Linked DNA regions of Homo sapiens: all the other regions are linked to region 1. Evidence: promoter capture Hi-C in 16 types of primary human blood cells and fetal thymus (Javierre and others, 2016). All regions are on one chromosome and are shown on one strand. Each heading gives the region's core, a stretch centred on a gene start or on the middle of the fragment in contact. The rest is flanking DNA. Distances are from core to core; before and after follow the strand shown. Region 1 holds the start of DLX5 (distal-less homeobox 5). Region 2 overlaps DYNC1I1 (dynein cytoplasmic 1 intermediate chain 1). Region 3 overlaps DYNC1I1 (dynein cytoplasmic 1 intermediate chain 1). Region 4 overlaps DYNC1I1 (dynein cytoplasmic 1 intermediate chain 1). Region 5 overlaps DYNC1I1 (dynein cytoplasmic 1 intermediate chain 1).

Region 1 (2,739 bases), core at 133-2,632:
GCAGGATTATTAATGTGCTGGTGGGAAGAGATCAAACCTTACCAATAAAACCTCTCCGCCGAGCCTCATGCCTTTCTCTTACCGCCCAAGCTCACTAACCCTCTTAAACTCTCTAAGTAAGTTTCAAAGCGGACGAAAAAGGAGGACGGAAAGACAAATTGTGGGCGCCTATGGAGACAGAAAAAAAAATCTATCCTACAACGTGACCCCTCAGCAACCCTCCTCCACCTTTAAATGGCTTTTTGTTTTTGGAAATGCCTGGATAAACCGCAAAACTCTCGGCGCGCTCTTCTCTGGCTGGCTACAACTCCTTAACCCCCCCACCCCCACCCAGCGTGCTCAGGGCACCCGCACCGTGCTAGCTTGTGGCGGCTCTCAAACTAATCCTGACTGAGTTTTTGAGGCAGCCTTCTATTCCCACTCGCACCAACCCAGCACGCTTACCAAAATTCCCAAGTAACCTTCTCTTTGTTACGCAAACGCCAGGAGCTGCTTGATTCTTTCTTCTCTCCACCCCTATCCCCTTTCCAGCCTAGCCGGCTTCCTGGCCGGGCAAGCTGGGAATTCAGCGACTGAAGGGCCTTGGAAGGTGCCGGAGGGGAGAGACGCTAGTTCGAACCTCCACAGGGCTCTCCTACTAAAAATCCCTAAAATGCTGGCCCGAGAAACTCTCTTTGTTGGAGGGTCTGAGTCCTACTCCCTTCTGCCGCGTGCGCCCCCACTGCCGTGAACCGCTGTGACCCCCAATCTACCACCCCATCTCGCGCCCCCAGCGTCCTAGTCGCCCTGTATCTGCCCAGCCTTCCCCCTGTCCATGTACCTGGCTGGTTGGTGGCGCTTGGGACGCGGTTGTAGGCGCCGCCGTACTGGTGGTAGGAGCTAGCGTAGCTATAGTCGGCATAAGCTTTGGCTGGGTAGCTCCCGGCGGAGCCGTTCACGCCGTGATACTGATACTGGTAGGGGTTGAGAGCTTTGCCATAGGAAGCCGAGGTAGGAGAGCAGTAGCCGTGCGGGGCTCCCCCCGTAGGGCTGTAGTAGTCAGAATCGGTAGCTGAAGACTCGGGCAAAGTTGGCGATTCCTGAGACGGATGGTGCATAGCTGCGGACGTCTGGAACGGAGCTTGGAAGTCGCCGGATCGGATGCTGGGGACCCTTCTGTCAAACACTCCTGTCATCGCTCACGGGCGGCGGCAGCGGCTGTCCTTGCTGTTGTGGCGGCGGCAGCTGCCCTAGTTGGCTGTGGGGCTGCTCTGGTCTAAGCAGACATGGCTGTGGGAGCGAGGGAGGAGGAGGAAGAGGAGGAGGAGAGAAGGAGGAGGCGGCGGCCGCGGCGAGGAGGAGACTGGGAGTCGTGAAGTCTCTGTCTCCGGCCGGCTGACTGCTGGCTGAGGCGCAGCACAGCCTTGGTTAAATCCTTAATTGCGCGCTTACGCACAGCGGGGTGGATCTGGTTCTATTGGCCAGGGCCTCGGGAGCAACAGTAACACCCTAACTCGTCCAACTAGTTTTAGCACAACAAAGCATTGCTTAAAAAGGGGGTGGGGGGTACTGAGGGGGTGTGTGTGTTTGTGTGTGTGCGCGCCCGCGCGCTTGTGTGTGTTTTTGCTTGTTGTGGAGTGGGGAGGGGTCTTAGTCTATCTGTTTTTAGTAAATTCCAAAGACATCGCAGAAGCCACAGCACAAGGCTCTGTGATGTCTGGGGACAATGTGTTCCAATCAGAAGCCTCAAAAGTGCACATGTTTTGGGAATGAGGTGGGCGACCATCTTTCCTTGCTTCCCACTACCCCGCCCCCGTGGGCTGCACCAAAGGCGAGTGTAGAATTAAACACTGATACTGAAATAGGGAGTCAAGGTGCAGGGAGTGGGGAGCGGGGGGATGTAGGATGGAGGCAAGAAGGAAGGGAAACAGCATTTTTTTTTTTTTTAGTGGAGTGTTGGGAAGCAAGTTGTAACTTACATGTTTTGAAAATTTGCTCTTTGGGGAAAGAGGCAACTTCCTTTGCAGGAGATGAGTATCTCCCGGACGCGGGCTGGACAGGAATGCCCAAGAAGGCACAATGTCCATTAAGCCGGTGAATGGCAGGGAGAGTTCCTGCAGCCCAAAGTCCTTATAATGACTTTTAAAAATTACTGTCTTAAACACATATAACTTAAGGAAGCCCAAATCCTCGTTGCTGGCTTGCAAAAAGAGCCAAACAGCTCCACTTCTGTTTAATATTTTCATCTATTTTCAAGACATTGGAATAAAGGCTCTTTAACTATGTTCAGTGGCCAAAGACTCCCGCAAAGGTGAATGGATCCATGTATAACCTGCCATACCTCCAGGAAAGAATGGGAAAGTCTCGGAAGTGGGGAAGGAGACAAGGATCAAAGCCTTTGCAAAGTCAGATGATGCTCATTGATTTCCCCCTCCTGGCTCCATGAATGTGGCCCAGTCTCTCCATTTCCCAGACCCGGGTTTCTGTACCCTCTCCCCTTTATTTCCTGCTGCAAAGACATCCTACTTAGCTCGTATGCAAGGGAAGAAAGGATTCAAGAATCATTCAGTTGATACACGAGATCTAAACTTTGCTCTTCAGGAGGTGCTATCCTTGTTCTAGTCGTGATTCAGCTGGGAGTTTAGAAATTCAGCATAAAAGTCTCTCCCAATCCCCATTGTTACTCCCCTCAAATAGGCAACTCCGCGGACTAGATCCTGATTTGGGGCCTTCCTACATCTTCCTTTACGGGGTCCAAGA
Region 2 (2,739 bases), core at 127-2,626, 1.1 Mb before region 1:
TTAAATCTGTAATTTTGGTAATTCTGAAGTAACGTGACACAAGGAATTTTGATCATTGCTCAGTTCAGCCTGGGGGAATCTCCTTTCAAGGAATGAGAAATGCTTGGGAGAAGTCATTGGAGGAAGCTGCAATTGGGGTTTGACCTGAATAAATTGAAATAGAACATGGGAGATATTACCTAGTGAGCCTAGTAGAAATTAGCAAGCTGAAGATAAGAGTTAGCAGTATATATATTCACATATATATGGCTGTATACTCAAAATTGTTGCAAAGTGTGAACATCAGACTTAATCAAATGACATGCTGATATGCCTCCTTATAAAAAAGGGTTGGCATTAAAATTCAGAATTTTCAAAATACAAAAATTAGAAGGTGATTACTCACGTTTTTAAAAGAACTCTTTGCCTTAAAAAGAATCTACCACATTATTCCATTCAAATTACCCCTTATAGAAACGACTTCCTGTTCAATAAATAGTTCTGGGACAACTGGCTTATCATATGCAGAAGACTGAAAATGGACTCCTATGTTACACCATACACAAGAATCAACTCAACATGGATTAAAGACTTAAATGTAAATTACAAAACTATAAAAGCCCTGAAAGTTAACCTAGGCAATACCATTCAGGACAAAGAAACTGGCAAAGATTTCATTTTCATACCAAAAACAATTGCAAAAAAGCAAAAATTGACAAATTGGATTAAACTTAAGAGTTTCTGCACAGCAAAAGAAACCATCCACAGAGTAAACAGAAAACCTACAGAATGAGAGAAAATATTTGCAAACTATTCATCATCTGACAAAGGTCTAATATCCAGTATCTATAAAAAAACTTTAACAAATTTACAACAACAACAACAACACCCCATTAAAAAGTAGGCAAAGGACATGAATAGACACTTTTCAAAAGAAGACATACATGTGGCCAATAAGCATATGAAGAAAAGCTCAACATCACTGATCATGAGAGAAATGCAAATCAAAACCACCATGAGATAGCATCTCACACCAATCAGAATGTCTATTATTAAAAGGTCAAAAACTAACAGATGCTGGCAAGGTTGCGGATAAAAGAGAATGCTTACACACTGTTGGTGGGAGTGTAAATTAGTTCAACTGTTGTGGAAAGCAGTGTGGCAATTCCTGAAATAGCGAAAAACAGAACTACCATTCAATCCCCTTACTGATATATCTGATGTAATAAATCATTCTCCCATAAAGGCATATGCATGTGTATGTTCATTGCAGCACTATTCACAATTGCAAATATATGGAATCAACCTCAATGCCCATCAGTGGCAAAGTGAATAAAGAAAATGCGGTGCATATATACCATGGAATACTATGCAGCCATAAAAAGAATGAGATTATGTCCTTTGCAGGAACATGGATGAAGCTGGAGGCCATTATCCTTAACAAAAATGCAGGAACAGAAAGGCAAATACCACATGTTCTCACTTTAAGTGGGACTTAAATGATGAGAACACATGGACACATAGAGGGGAACAACAGATACTGGGGCCTCCTTGACGGTGGAGGGTGAGAGGAGGAGGAAGGGAGAGGATCAGAAAAAGTAACTATTGGGTACTAGGCTTGGTACCTGAGTGAGAAAGTAATCTGTTCAACAAACCCCTGTGACACAAATTTACCCATATAAAAAACCTTCAGATGCACCACTGTACCTAAAATAAAAGTTTAAAAAATAAATAAAATTAAATTAATGAGATGCTCTTTAAAGTATGTTAAAATTGCCATTTGGTTAATTTCAGAGGTTCTCACACTTCAGTGTGCATCGCAGTCACCAGAAAGGTATGTTAATAAAAATTAGGTTGCTCAGCCCCCACCCTCAGAATTTCTGATTCAGAAGGTTTGGGATGGATCCCTAAAATCTGCATTTCGAACAGGTTCTCTGGTCTGGGCACCAGTTTGAAAACTGTTGGTTTATTAAAATTCTTCCTGAACGTAGTTTATTAGAAAAAAATCTATGATGTAACAGGAAGTAAACCTACAAGTGATTTTTAGTGGATGTGATGTGCTGAATTGTGTATCCCCCAAATTTCATATGCTGAAGTCCTCATCCCCAGTACCTCAGAATGTGACTGTGTTTAAAGATAGGGTCCTTAAAGAAGTAATTAAGTTAAAATGAGGTCATTAGAGTGGGCCTTCATCCAACATATGACTAGTGTCCTTATAGGAAGGGGAAATTAGGACCCAGGCACACACAGAGGAAAGCCCATGTGAAAAAAACAGGGAGAAGGTGGTCATCTACAAGCCAAGGAAAGAGGACTCAGAAGAAACCAGCCTGCTGACACCTTCACTTGGATTTCTAGCCCCAAGACTACGAAGAAATATATTTCCGATGTTTGATCTCCCTAGTCTGTGGTCCTCTGTTATGGGTCTAGCAAGCTAATACAGATTGTGGGCTTCAAAATAAAATAGCTATTTAGAAAATGTATTCAACGGTTTTGCGTTTGGTCTAAGGGTAAAAATCAAAAGTGATAGTAAAGTAAGAGAAGCAAACAGAGTAAAATGCACTCTTAACCTCTGCTTCATGTCCACTTTTGCCTTTGTAGATGTCTCTGGGCATCTGGGCTTGGAGGAGATACCTGAATTTATGTTTAATCAGGGGACACTATTGGTGTCAGGTTGGTTCACAAATGTGGGAGAATAAGAGAGCTACATGGAAAGGAAGAGTCCATATGAACAGAATGAAGTGTGTGGCCTAGGGAGAGTTT
Region 3 (2,739 bases), core at 148-2,647, 1.1 Mb before region 1:
TGAGCTTCACTAAGCCTCAGTTTTGGCATCCACCAAATGGAGATAATAATAGTCTCCAGCTCCTAGAGTTGTGAGGATGAAATGCAACAGACAATGCATATAAATTATGAAGCATAAGTGGTGGTTCTTGCTGTTTTCTTGTGCTTGTTAAGAGTATTACTATGTGAGCCTGGCTTCTTTCCTTTCTCCCTCCCTTCCGTCCCCAAACTTACCGGTATTACACAGTTGATACAACAGTGTTCAAGATACTCCTCGTTTGAAGATAAGAGTCCTGCAACTGGGTACGAGTAAAGTGTCCTTTGGAAAACTGTGATGTACTCAACAAATGCATAAAGATGAGCATGTTTTAATTGTCCAGGCCCACACAATGTGGATGATTTTCATATTCTATCACTAGTATTTTCTGCTCTTCCATCCTGCAATGCCCTAACCTCCCAGGGTGCCCATGCCTAGAATATCCCTTTCCTTCACCCTGTATTTATTGAACTCAGTCCTCAAAGGCTGGCTGAGTGTCACCTACTGTGATCTTTGCTCACAATGAGAGCAGAAGAAATTGCTCCTGGAACTCCCTTTACCTAACACTGTAATATGTAATACTTTTTATGTTTTATGTAACCTTATTACATAAAATGATATGGTTTTGCTTTTTATACTCATCTCTCCTACTTGAATATAAGTTTCTGGAGGCTAAAGCTTGTCATATTTTTCCTAGTTCCTTCATAGAGCCTGGAAAGTATGCTGCTCATTAACAATTGTGCTGGGGTTGTTTGTTGTTGCTTGTAAATTTTTTGAAAGCGTAAAAGCATGCAGGAAAGTACTCAAATCAGGAGTGTACAACTTGATATTTTTGACATGAACATACCATGAAACCAGTCTTCAGATCAAGATTCAGAATATAAGGAGAAACCCAGAAGTCCATATTCAGTCTCTCCTCCCCCAAGGGTAACCACTACATCATAGATTAGTTATGCCCCTTATTAAATTTTCTACAAATGTCATCATATGGTACATATGCATTCATGGCTAACATCTTTCATTTCACATTATGTTTCAGAAGCATTCATGCTGTTGTATGTAGATGTGGTTCATTCACTACCATGACTATGTAGTATTTCACTGTGTGACTATGCCATTATTTATTTATCCATTCTGCTGCTGATAGACCTTGGGAAGTAACTGTTTTGTGAACTGAAATGAATACTAACATCTGGCTCTTAAGAAATATTTCCCAAGGAAAGGGTGACAGCACAGAAGGTTAGATTCACGAATGCTAGAGAAGTAGCCCTGATTTCTCACTTTTTCAAAGAGCATTGACAGATGGCTCCCCATATCAAGAGCCAGCACAATCTTTCAGAATCAGGACAGCCCATTTTCCCAGACCATGTGATATTTATTCTATTCTAGCCTGGCTGGTTGCTAAATTGGTAAAGATCAGAGAGCTTTTGGGCACAGTGGTGTTCTTAGAATTCTGTTTTGCTATTAAATATTGGCCTACAAATATATAGCTAAATGTGTTTTACTAATGATTGGGGTGGCATTAATTGTAATTACTTGTCAATCTAACTTGTTGCTGGTGTCTTAATTTCCAGCATATCTGAGAGGTTTTTAAAGGATTTCACTAGCAGTTTGGTAAGTCATTTGTCAATAAATGATGAAAAGGTTGGGCTATTTATATTTCAATGTTACCATTTTAATGGGCAACTGTCTATGTACTGTCCACCGCAGAAATGCTTTTTCCTCCCTTTTCTTGAGGAAAGTGTCTAAGGTGGAGGGAGGTCTGGTTGCTATGGATATCTGAAATTTTATGTTTACAATTTAAGAGGTAAGCTGAAACCTCACTATTTGGTCTCCACCTGAGTGGCATTCACATTTAGAAATTACAAGATTGTTATTGGCTATCTGGAGCTTGAGGATGTGGCTGAGTCCTGGCAGTTAATTAAAACTAGGCTGGTTTTCAATATCAGAATTATTCAGCCTGTTTTGGTAGGATGTCCGTAAAGTCCTCACTACCTTGCAATGTGTTTTTGATGTAAAAAAAATATTTAAAAAGGAAACATAACAGGGTAGCTTGTCCTCATTTACTGGAGAGGTTGGTTGCTCCATAAGCTTTTCAGAGTGGGATTCTGCCCCCATTGTTTCTTGTCTGTTAGCTCTGTAGGTTCTAGGCTACAGTATTTCAGTGTTCACAGGACAGCTAATTGGAGAACAAAGCCCTGGCATTTTCCTGGAAGGAAGATTGCTTCATGTGATGCTTATTGGGAAGATCGTAGAAAAACTGGTTAATTCAGAGTATTGCTGCATTAAATGTCAGGTGAAATATTTTCTAATTATTCTTTTATTATCAGTTTAATCTTTTAAATATGTTTTTAAGTATAGAAGTAACTCATGAATACTTTTTTTTTTTTTGGAGACAGAGTCTCACTTTGTAGCCCAGGCTGGAGTGCAGTGGCGCAATCTCGGCTCACTGCAACTTCCATTCCACCTCCCAGTTCAAGCAATTCTGGTGTCTCAGCCGCCTGAGTAGCTGGAATTACAGGTTTGCACCACCACACCCAGCTAACTTTTGCATTTTTTGTAGAGATGGGGTTTCGCCATGTTGGCCAGGCTGGTCTCAAACTCCTGGCCTCAAGTGATCCACCCACTCGGCCTCTCAAAGTGCTGGGATTACAGGCGTGAGCCACTGCGCCCGGCCTATGACTACATTTTTAACTTAAAAGAATCTAATAATACTGATAAAGA
Region 4 (2,739 bases), core at 132-2,631, 1.1 Mb before region 1:
ATGCATGTGGGGCTTAATACCTAGGTGATGGTTTGATAGGTGCAGCAAACCACCGTGACACGATTACCTATGTCACAAACCTGCACATCCTCCACATGTATCCTGGAATTTAAAATAAAATTAAAAATATATATGGAGAGAATGATATTTAAGACAAAAAGATGTTCTTTCTACCTATTTAGATTGTTTAATCTTCAATTAGCGTGTTTGGAAAAGCACATAAGCATGATGATATGAGGTGCTGAAGTAAACATGTAGATAAATATAACTAAACTCTAAAAATGCCACCTCCTCCACAAAAATCTTCATCAGCACCCTAGAAAGAGGTGTGATTCTTTTCACTTGCAATCCATTACATGTTCAAACATGTAAGCAATAGTCACCTAGGCTCTGAGCCTCATTCATTGAGTATGAGGGCACCATTTTAAAATAAATTTGGGTGGAACAGAGTCATAGTCCATACACTTACAGTTCATTCATTGATTAATTCATGCATTGAACAAATATCTAGTAAGTGCATACCCTGAGCCAAGTCCTATCTTAGATGCTAAGAACACTATAGTGAACAAGGTACAGTCCCTGCCCTGATAGAGCTTATATCTTGGTTGAATGACAGGGGAAGAAATGCAATAAATTGAAGACAAGTAGATACAGATGGTGGTGTGTGCTATAGAGAAGAAAAGGAGTGGAGTAAAAGAGACAGACAGCTGGTTGGGAGGAGAGTGCTCTCTGGCATAGGATGGATACAAAGGCCTCCCTGGTCTGCTGATGTTAGGACAGAAGCATGGAGAACACAAGGAAGACAGTTCTGGATTACTGGAGGGAATGGATCCAAACAGAAGTGATGCAAAAGCCCTGGTACAGGTAGAAATTTTAGTATTTTTAAGGGCCAGCTCAAGTTAACTAGCTTCTCTGAGTTGCAATTTCCTCTGTTGTAAAAATGGGGATAATAATAGTACTATGAAGGACAGTTTGTGAAGATTTAATAAAATAGTGTGTGCAAAATACCTAGCGCAGTGAGTGTTCTGTGAAAATCTTAGGTGCATTTCTTCTGTAAATATCTACTCACGTCAGTGTTTCTGTAAATATGAACTCATGTTGGTGTGTGTGTTAGTATGTGTCATTATGGTCTCTCTTCTTTGACAGCAATGTGCCTTTTGAACAGTAAGCCCAAGGTAATTACCAGATTGTGTTCCAGAAAACACTAAGGCAGCCCCTGCCTGTGTTAAACATTTCATGAACCACTTTATGAAGCTTGTTTCCACCTCCACTTACCTTTCTTGAGTCCTGCCACCATTGGTCTACCCAGAGCCCCCTGCTGCTGAGGCCTTCTCCTAGAAATGGAAGGTTTTTGGGTGGGAGATGCCCAGGATAGCTCAGGACCAGCTCTCCTCCATGTGTGTTACTCACTCCACCCATGGGAAATGCATGCACCCATAGTGAGGGGTGGGGCAGATTTCTTTCCATCCCTCCTCTAAACCCTGATATCTCTCCAGTTCCCTCTTTTCCAAGCTTAGACAGGCAAAGGAGCTAAGGCAGCTGAAATGCTCTGCATAAAATAATGGGAGAAATTTAGGATCAGAGTGGGTGTTTGCCCTTGAGAGGAATAGCTGAGAGAAAAGAGGTGAAAAACACCTTTTCAAGCATCACGGTTATGTGGCTGAGAAGCTTTCAAGAACAGAAAAGGCCACTAAGTATTTTTAAGGAGTTTGCCCTGTTGCACTGTAAATTCTCTCCATCTTTTCAAACTTTTAATAAAGTCTGTCAAAAACCAGGTCTTTGTATGTGGCTTTTTTTTTTTTTTTTTTTTGGTAGCAACCAAGGAAAGGGGCTAAGTTCTATTTTGTGGTAAACAGAGCTGAAATCAATGCAAAGCCCCATGACCAACAGTGGGCGAGTAAGAATTTAGCAGAGGAAGGAAGCAGGAACCAGCCATCACCATCCCTCCATCTCCTAGAGTTCCTCAGAAGTGTTTCGAGGGCGTTGGATGTTTCAAGGCAGTAGTATACCTATCTTAATGAGCAGGATGGCCTTAGCTGACATGTGCATGTATGTGAGACTTGCTTTGGGCAGCACCCCAGACAAAGATAGGCACTGAATTCTCTGGATAACAACATGAAAGTGAGGTTGAAGCTGCAGATCTGGGAGGGACTCTAGGCCTGCCTGAAAGTGTGTACAATAGACAGGGGTTGTCCACATTTGTCAGTTTCCTCGAGTAGACCCATGCTTGTATCTATCATCAGTATGGACTCAAGCTGCATTATTGAGGTCCCAAGAACACATCCAGTAGTGGGCACAGTGGGAGTGGCTTTGTTAACCTCAATGGTTTACTAGTTGGTTCTTGAGTTGACACCTTTGATTCCTTAGAACAGAAAGGAAATAAGTCAGAGGAACTTGTCTTGGGCTGCTTCCAGGGCTGTACATAGGTAGAAATAATATCAAAGCTAACATTTATTGAGTACTTAGTCTACATAAAGGATTATGTGGGAACTTTATATGTACTCACTCACCTAGTTCCCCCAACAACTCTTTGAGATAAGTACTTCCTAATATTCTTCCAAAACAAGTGGGCATACTTTGACCCAGCTACAGGTTTTGCAAAACTGGAGCACGTGGAATGAATAGGAGTGCTGAGGGGAAATTTTGTGAGAAGTAGGAGTTGGTGAAGCAACCAATTCAGCAATTCTTTAATAGCAGATAGGCAGTTAGCTTTATCCAGATACCCAGTGTCTTTGTCAG
Region 5 (2,739 bases), core at 164-2,663, 1.1 Mb before region 1:
ATTAACTTCTGCCACTAGTTTAATTTCTTGTGTGGACCTGGATAAGGGAAGCCATACATGGGTGGTAATTTTATTCCCTCCAATCTCAAAGGAAACGTAACTGGGTATGAAGTAGTGGCACAACTCATATATCAGTAGTCTGTAGCAGGTCTACATAAATCCTTTTCTTTAAAGTTATTTAACTGTTTTGAAAATGGTTTCAACAGAAGTAATTCCAACTGCACCAGAAAGGAAACCAGAGTTTTAAAGAAAAATATACTCTCTTTGCTGAGCAAGGCAAACATATCAGTATGCAGAGAAACAAACCAGTCTCTTGTGTTTTATTTCCTTTGCAAATCCACCAAAACACTTACTTTATGTCTTTAAAAGGCTGATAGACAAAGAATTCTGTGACCACTAAAAATTAATACCTACAACTGGTTTGTAGACACTTTAAAAGGGCAGGTACTATTTTTTAAATTTCTCTGTTTTTCACAGTTTCTCATTATGGGACTTTGTACATACTATAAACACAATACATATTTGTTGTGAGTGTTTTTTTAGACCGATCAAAAACATATTCTCTGGGGAAGCATTTTCCATTCAAGGAATTAGATAACCTGCTATTTCCTCACATGCTTCTATGCATAAACCTAGACATTGTATCACAAACCTAGTCCTTTTTATAGCCAAGCCCTTCACAGAATAATATTTTTCCAATAAGCTCGTAGTGGCATTTTTGGTCATGGTGTTTCTTTTTTGACTCTTCTGAGAATTAATGTTTAAAATAAACACCCTTATAGCTGTGAAAGATGAGAACTTGTTACTATTTAAGCTGACTAATTCAAAGTCATTTGGTAAAACTACTTTCAGTTTTAAGAACTAGAAGATTTAAGTGCTCAAACTAGATGGCTCTAATAAATGCACAATTATTATCTATAGTCAGTATAACTAATTATCAGTGAATCCAGACCTTGATCCATTACTCCCCTCACGTCCATGGATTGAGAAGCAAGAATCTATTTGTTATTAGTCTTATTTCCTCCAAGGTCTTCACACAACTCACTCCCTTAACTCCATTAAGTTTTTGCTCACATGTCACCTCATTGTGGCCTTGGTGGACCTTTTCACTCTGTTTTAAATTGAGACTCTCCCACTCTTGACCAGAATGCCTAATCTCTCTTTCCTATTTTGTATTTTCCCCCATAGCATTTGTCTGACACAGTATATATTTTGTTTTTTTATTTGTTTTTGGTTTCTCTCCACTGGAATGGAAGCTCCATGAGCACAGAGATTATTTTGTCTGTCTTGTTCCCTGGTGTGTGCCCAGCACCTGGCACATAGTAAGTGCTCAGTCAATATTTGTTAGACTCTAAGGCAATGTTTGTTTTGAAGATTTATGCTTAAGTATGTTCCCAATGACCTTGATGGTTTAAAAAGCAATTTTGTATTGGTTATTTTACTTAGTTATTCTTACAACAACGTGTTTTAAGGAAGGATTATTATCCCACTCCAGCAGATGAGAAATGGGGGCTCAGAGAGTTCCTATGAATTGGATAAAACCCAGGGGCCAGCAAGTGGTGGACTCCAGCCTGGAACAAGATCAAATACTTCCTTTAGGGTGCTGCTCTCACCTAAGCTGTGAATCTTTCTGGCTGGGGGAATTAACACTTCATATTAAGCATTGCCGGCCAGGTCTCAAAGCAGTGGATTCCAGAATGAAAATTAGAACAGAATGTGGTTGTAGAATACCTGATAAATAAAATAATCCATTATGTACAGCTCTCAAGGGTGAGAAGCATACCTTCTCAGCTACAACTTGTATTTGTTCACCTCCTGAGTGTGGAAGAACAATCCATGTTGAGGCCATGCAAGTCCACCTCAAAAAGTCCCTGCAAAGCCTCCTTACCTTGCAATAGAACATTGCAGCTGCTTGTATTTCAGTCCTTTCTCCATGGCATTTCTATTTCACATCATGCTGTGGTTCAGGAGGCAGTTTGCATAGTGGTTAAAGATCACAGACCCCAAAACAGGCAGAGCCAGACAGAACTTGAAGCGGGATGTGGTTGCAGTTCCTTCGGGGGAAATTATTCTGTCTTCTCATCTGTAAAACTGGGCTAATGGTACTAAGTTCTGATAAATAAATTAGATTATACAAGTGATGCACTCATCACTGCCTTAAGTGTTAGTGAATATCTCCTGTATCCCTTCTACTAAATTGTAAGATTGTAGAAGGAAATGCACTTACTGGCTTTATTAGTTTTCAAGTTTTGCTATAACAAAATACCACAAACTGGCTGTTTAAACAACAGAAATGTAATGCCTCACAGTTCTGGAGGCTAGGATCTGAGATCAAGAAGTCTGTGGGCTTGGTTCCTTCTGAGGACTGTGAGGAAGAATCTGTTCTCCTAACTTCCGGTGGTTTTCTGGCACTCTTTGGTGTTCCTTGGCTTGTAAAAGCATCAGGCCGATCTTTGCCTTCATCTCCACATGGTGTTCTTCCTATGTTTGTGTGTCTGCATCCAATTTCCCCTTTTTATAATGGCACCAGTCATGTTGGATTAGGTGCCCTACTCCATTATAACCTCATTTGAACTAATTATATCTGCAGTGACCCTATTTTCAAATAAGGCCACATTCTGAGGTACTGGGGTTTATTACTTCAACATATGAATTTTGGGGACACAGTTCAACCCATAGTTCTGGCCTTATCACCTTTGTTTTTTGTTGTATTTGCCCTGTACTTAATAAGTGGCAGGG

The links. Contacts are between HindIII fragments. The CHiCAGO score rates a contact against its expected background, and 5 or more counts as called.
Region 2: a contact is called between a fragment that was not itself captured here and the fragment with the promoter of DLX5 in region 1, in 1 of 17 cell types (activated CD4 T cells). The highest score is 6.4, in activated CD4 T cells.
Region 3: a contact is called between a fragment that was not itself captured here and the fragment with the promoter of DLX5 in region 1, in 10 of 17 cell types (endothelial precursors, activated CD4 T cells, total B cells and 7 more). The highest score is 12.3, in endothelial precursors.
Region 4: a fragment that was not itself captured here is called in contact with the fragment with the promoter of DLX5 in region 1 in 1 of 17 cell types (total CD4 T cells); the score reaches 6.4 in total CD4 T cells.
Region 5: a contact is called between a fragment that was not itself captured here and the fragment with the promoter of DLX5 in region 1, in 1 of 17 cell types (neutrophils). The highest score is 6.4, in neutrophils.

What each region holds. Positions count from the first base shown.
Region 1 is chr7:97,023,449-97,026,187 of GRCh38, forward strand. It overlaps DLX5 (distal-less homeobox 5), which reads right to left and starts at 1,383. Exons shown (of 3, transcript NM_005221.6): 1 at 821-1,383. The coding sequence starts at 1,175. RefSeq lists enhancers at 889-1,605, 2,532-2,739. The HindIII fragment of the contact is 4,218 bases long and covers 903-2,739 here.
Region 2 is chr7:95,888,895-95,891,633 of GRCh38, forward strand. The region is part of intron 6 of DYNC1I1 (dynein cytoplasmic 1 intermediate chain 1); the gene reads left to right. Among named protein-coding and RNA genes, the nearest start is that of DYNC1I1, 120 kb to the left of the region's middle. The HindIII fragment of the contact is 5,609 bases long and covers 1-2,739 here.
Region 3 is chr7:95,928,757-95,931,495 of GRCh38, forward strand. All of the region lies in intron 6 of DYNC1I1 (dynein cytoplasmic 1 intermediate chain 1), which reads left to right. Among named protein-coding and RNA genes, the nearest start is that of DYNC1I1, 160 kb to the left of the region's middle. The HindIII fragment of the contact is 1,413 bases long and covers 692-2,104 here.
Region 4 is chr7:95,946,191-95,948,929 of GRCh38, forward strand. The region is part of intron 6 of DYNC1I1 (dynein cytoplasmic 1 intermediate chain 1); the gene reads left to right. Among named protein-coding and RNA genes, the nearest start is that of DYNC1I1, 180 kb to the left of the region's middle. The HindIII fragment of the contact is 258 bases long and covers 1,253-1,510 here.
Region 5 is chr7:95,973,000-95,975,738 of GRCh38, forward strand. All of the region lies in intron 6 of DYNC1I1 (dynein cytoplasmic 1 intermediate chain 1), which reads left to right. Among named protein-coding and RNA genes, the nearest start is that of DYNC1I1, 200 kb to the left of the region's middle. The HindIII fragment of the contact is 5,585 bases long and covers 1-2,739 here.